Linked DNA regions of Homo sapiens: region 1 is linked to region 2. Evidence: promoter capture Hi-C in 16 types of primary human blood cells and fetal thymus (Javierre and others, 2016). All regions are on one chromosome and are shown on one strand. Each heading gives the region's core, a stretch centred on a gene start or on the middle of the fragment in contact. The rest is flanking DNA. Distances are from core to core; before and after follow the strand shown.

Region 1 (2,700 bases), core at 93-2,592, 500 kb before region 2:
AAGGGATCTGAATTTCAGAGTGAGTAGTGGTGGGGTCAGGCTGGTGGGGAACCTATTTGAAATGTTTGCACCGGCTTCCTGCCCAATGGGTCGAAAGAGCTATTTGAATTTTGTGGCAAAAAAAATTCTGTATGCCTAAAAGATGCCAGATGGAGAAGGAAGTGGTGTGTTTAGCCACAGGAGAGATACTGCATGGATAATAGGTTCTCTACCCGCTTTTTGTCAACGTCAACATCAGCTTGTCAGTCTGTTAGGTCGATCATATGTAAGAATAATTCTCAGCATTCATCAACTGCTGAGACCTTCCCAAACCTAATTTTATTCTCAAGACAAACCTGTCAATGAGGTTTTATTGATTGTTTCCATCATACACATGGAGAAATGGAGGCAGAGGTTTAGAGAGAAAAACATGAGTCAGAGTGGGAAGGGAATTAACCCAGGGGACAGTCTCTATAGTTCTTCCCTCTGAGTTTGCTACAAAAATATTATTTATAAATCATTTGAAATGGTGATAACACTGAGCCCGCCAATTCAATCAAGAAACAGCCTCTATGTTGTAGCTCCATTTATTTTTCACTGGCCAGAGGTAGTGCTGAGGTAACAATTGTAAAGGTGAGAAGTCACAACTTCTATTACGGATATCTAGGGATACCTACTGAGGACGACTTGCCTGAGAGCTTATGCTCCCAGCATTGGTGAGAAGTGCTTTCTCCTTGCTGGCTTTGAGCCACTTCCCAGAGGAGTTCCTGCTCCTCTGTTTAGAAATTGCAGAGTGGGTGTGGGCGTGCCATGTTTCTTAAGTTGCCTAAGACCCAAAAGGTTATTTTTAAAAATGTAAATATACACCCAAACTCATTGAAATAATGGTAATGGGAAGATTGAGCTGAAGACCGTGATTGAGAAATGCACGTTACCATGGTAATAACAGGGTGGGCAAGGCTAACTCTGGCCCTTCCACATTTATTTTAAACCAGTAGTTCTCAAATAGTAGCGTGCATCGGAATACCCTAGAGGGCTTGTTAAGAAACAAGTTACCAGCCCCACCCCCAGACTTTCTAATTTAGTAGATCTGGAGTGGGCCTTATAATTTGCATTTCTAACCAGTTCCCAGGTCTAGCCCTAGGGCCAAATCCATGTTTTCACCTGTTTTTGTAAGGTCTGCAAATTAGTAATAGTTTTTACAGATGAACCTTTGCAAATGATTCCATGATAGGCAACACTAATTTTGAACCCCAATTAAGCAAAATTCTGTCCCCCCTCACAATTACATTCTTTTCATTAGTAGACCTGCATTACACAAAAATTGTACCCAATATTACAGTTTGAATTTCATCAATGAAAACTTAGTGGAATTTTGTTTTTCTCCCTTGTTATATAATAACTACCCAGATAAGATGCTCAATTTTGTTTCTTGGCCCACAAAGCCTAAAGTATTTATTCTCTAGACTGTTAAAGAAAAAATTGCAGACCCCTGGCTTAACTGATGCTGCTGATGTGGGGATGACTTTGAGAACCACGTAAGCCATTTGCTAAGCTAAGTGTAGTAAACCCTCCTTCCACTGATTTAATACAATTCCACGGGCCCAACTGTCCTGGACTATCACACAATGCCGAGAGAGAGGCACCACCCCTCAACCTACAATGTTCCCCTCCAGGGAGCGAAGCTGCGGAGTCTAAAAACGTGAGGCAGTGGCTCAGCGTAGAGAAAGGATATTCCAAAACATCTAATGGGCACAACTGTAAGGGAAGTAACATTTGTTTTGGGTGTTGTCCCACCTCTCATTCTAAGCTGTTCCCATCCCAGATGCTGGGGACTCTGGGGATTCTCTGACTCTGCAATGTCCCCAACTCCTGCTCTCCAGTCAGACCTGCACCATTGCATCTGCAGCTAGCTCTGCAGTCATGCCCCAAGTAAATGCTGGTTAAGTAATCTGATTATAATCTTAGAATTTATAAGTCTGTGATTTATATCAAATATTCATGGTGTATATGACAGCTTCCTTTGTCATATGATATAGAAATATCTGTTACATTATATAGAAATTAGTGCACTGAAAAAAGTTTACTTTTTAAAAAATCTTGACTATTTTTGTCCCCACTCTTTAATTCTGCTGTCATTAGGAGATTCTCATATTTAAAAGTGCTCAAAGCAAGGTATTCTGTTGTAGCCTGTCTTGAAGGAGTACCACCTGTCTTCAGCCTGCTAATGAAAATTGGAATTCTCTGAGGAAAGCTCTGTCATCTAGAATCTTCTGACCAGTGGATGAGTCAGCTCAGGGCCTCTTCTCTGCATCTTCCTTGGACTCGGACTGTGGGAAGCCCTGTGGAAAGCAGGATGATCTAACAGCAGGATAAAGATTGTTTTTGTTATCATGTCCCATGGCTAAAAATTACCCACTGCTTTTCCTTCTTAAACTGGGATCCTCAACTTGGAATCTCTGGCTATTAATAAAGTCTGGAGAGAGCAATAGAGTGCATTGGTTAGGACCTCAAGCATCAGCAGACCTAAATCTGAGTTATCACTTTATCACTAACTGTGAGAGCTTGGACACAATGCTTGCCATCTCTTCACACCATCCACTCACATGTGCAATGGTGTAAAAATCACAACTACTCAGAGGTAGTTGTAAGGATGAAAATAGATAATGTGCAAAGTCCGTAGAACAGTGTGTGGCATGCAGCTTAGTGAGGGCTCCACAA
Region 2 (2,700 bases), core at 189-2,688:
ATATAAGGAATGCATTCCAAGTTTTTAATATTACCAAGGGCCAAAAACAACTCTACTGTACCCACCACCTGTTTGTCACCTTAACCTTTTTAGGTGGAATAGATTAGAAAACCGAAGAGCCACACTACACTTATTTCAGCCAAGGACTGAAACTGGAGCCTGCCACAAGCATCTTCTAGAACAGCTCCAACAGAAGGATCCAGGAGATGGGCCACCAGCAAGTCATAGTGGAGTCCAAACAAGTGTGAAGTGAGAGCGAGTCTTCAGCATGGGAATGGCCGAGTGGGTCGTGGTGACCAGCTGCCTTCCTCTGACTGTTAAGTACAGCAGTCTCAACAGTAACAATGACCAGGCCTTCCCTTTATTTAGTTCCACCTCGGGGCATTGGCGCATTAAGAATGTCCCTCTAAAGGCATATGTAAGATAAAGCACACTTCGCACTTTAACCAGTGACTAAGGGAGATCAAAAGCAGGGGACAATACCCACCCGGAATTTGCGACCTCGCGAAAACGCTCTCACCAATCCCGCAGGTAAGTGCGGCGCTGGCCCAGGTGTGCCCAGCTCGACTCGCGTCCACCTGGGACCAAGCGGGCCCAAGAAGGCCCGGAGAGCAGGCGAGGGCGACTGTGGCCGGCGCGCCCCCCGCAGTTCCAGGCGGTGGCAGGAGCCTGAGAGCCGCCGTCCCAGGCTGGCCAGGCGCCCGCCCGCCCTGCGCGCACTCCCTGGGCTCCCGCTCCCGAGGCTGGGCAGAACTCGCAGAGGAAGACAAGGGCAGAAAGCGGGTGGAGGGAGGCAGCGCTCGCCCGTCCGGGCACACGACACTTGTCGGCTGAGGGGGACACGCGGGCAGACGGGGGCGTTAGCCCCAGAGGAAACAAAAGCCAAATGCCCACCGCCGGGCGCTCGATGGCCGGAGGACTGCCTGGGGGCCCTCAGGAGTCCCGTCCCGTCCCGCTCCCCCGGTCCCAGGCTGCGCTGGCTCCAGGGCGCCCAGGTAGCCGCGCCTGGCACCCCGACCCTGCCCTCGCGGCTGACCGAGGCGCCGGGCTCTGCGGCGGCCGCGCCCGTCCAAAGTAGGCGACAAGTGAGGCAGCGCCTCTCGCGGGGAGCCCGGCGCGCGCCCCGGCGGCGAAAGAGAAAGAGAAAGAGCCTGGGCCGGGACCGGGGCTATCCCCAACCGCCACCGCCCCCACCGGCCCGGCCCTCGCCGCGGGAGTCGTGCAGGCCCCTCTACCTGCCCGGGGATGGGGCCACCCCGCGCGGCGGCGGCCGTGGGCACCCACGCGGGCTCGCGACCATCCCACGCGGGCGGCGGCGTCCTTCTTACCCCCAGCGGAGCGGCGCCTGCCCGCAACGCCGACCGAGCTACAGGCGGGGGGCGAGTCGGAGCGCGAGGTTCCGCCAGCCCAGGCTGCGGCGCCGCTGCCCCGCGGTGCCCGGCGGGAGGGGCGCGAGGGTGCACGCGCGGGGTGGGGGCGCGGGAGCCGCCCCCTGCCCGCCCCGCGCGCATGCTCCCGCCGCACCTGCCTCGCTCAGTGTTCCACACCCCGGGGAGCCGGGTGGCGCTGGGCCCGCCGAGGTCGGGGCTTTCCCATGGGAGGGAGGTGGCTGCGGCGGAATTTTCAGATGCGTCCTTCTCTGTATTCGTTCCCTGGGAAGGATTCCCCCAAATCTTGGCTACTTCCTGCCTGCCAGCTTGCTCCCTGGCAGCGAAGTCCCAGTAGCTCACCCATGCTTCATCCCAGCTCTTGGGGTTCACCGTCTGAAGGCTCTCTCCTCCGGATCCCTCTCGGTCCTGCTGCTCGCTCCGATTTTGCAACCTCCCCCACTCCCCTTTCCTGCTCTTGACTTTGCTACTCACGAGTACCTGGATACCATTTCCAAATAAAAGAATACTCTTTCCAAGTGGCAAGCAGTGTTTACTGACCCTGTTCTAACTGCTTGGAATTGAGCAGGAAACAGGAGCTGGGTAGATCCTGCCCTCATGGAACTTATGGCCTTACTGGCTAGCTTTGGCCTTTCTCAAAGCATTGTCTCCCAGTTTGGGAGGACTGTATTAAATCATTTATTTTGGCTTACAAATAAAGGTAGCTGATAATTGAAGACTATATGTTGTGACTTTTGAATGAAATGTTCTTTCATAGGACGCCTTGTGTATAAACCCTAGTATGCAAATAATAAATAGTAGGTACTAAATAAGTATTAGTTTGTTGCTTTCAGCAGGAAATTGAATCATTTAGCAGGATTAACAATGATACCATCCAAAATGATCTTTTTGGTTTGTCGTGGGCTACCATAAACAGAGAATGAAAACTTGCTTTTTAGGTGAGACTGGGCATTGTTGAAACATAATTTCGTGTCCTTACTGAAAAGAGAAATATAAACCCCTTTGCTAATGAAGTTTTTAAACTAGGAACAATGATCATAGAAATTTGTAAGTGCAAACACACGATTTGTGTTCTGTGCTCTAGTCAGTTAAGAAAAATATATTAGCCAGGTATGGCGGCTCACATCTGTAATCCCAGCACTTTGGGAGGCCGAAGAGGGCGGATCACTTGAGGTCAGGAGTTCGAGACCAGCCTGGCCAACATGGTGAAACCCTGTCTCTACTAAAAATACGAAATTAGCTGGGTGTGGTGGCGGGCGCCTGTAATCTCAACTACTCGGGAGGCTGAGACACTAGAATCGCTTGAACCTGG

The links. Contacts are between HindIII fragments. The CHiCAGO score rates a contact against its expected background, and 5 or more counts as called.
Region 1: a fragment that was not itself captured here is called in contact with the fragment with the promoter of L3MBTL4 in region 2 in 2 of 17 cell types (M2 macrophages and M0 macrophages); the score reaches 6.0 in M2 macrophages.

What each region holds. Positions count from the first base shown.
Region 1 is chr18:5,911,940-5,914,639 of GRCh38, forward strand. It overlaps MIR3976HG (MIR3976 host gene), which reads left to right. Exons shown (of 10, transcript NR_172496.1): 10 at 2,169-2,468. All of the region lies in intron 1 of LOC121725015 (a long non-coding RNA gene), which reads left to right. Among named protein-coding and RNA genes, the nearest start is that of TMEM200C, 18 kb to the left of the region's middle. The HindIII fragment of the contact is 4,191 bases long and covers 1-2,700 here.
Region 2 is chr18:6,413,473-6,416,172 of GRCh38, forward strand. It overlaps L3MBTL4 (L3MBTL histone methyl-lysine binding protein 4), which reads right to left and starts at 1,439. Exons shown (of 19, transcript NM_001330559.2): 1 at 1,329-1,439. RefSeq lists a silencer at 942-1,481. The HindIII fragment of the contact is 5,527 bases long and covers 1-2,700 here.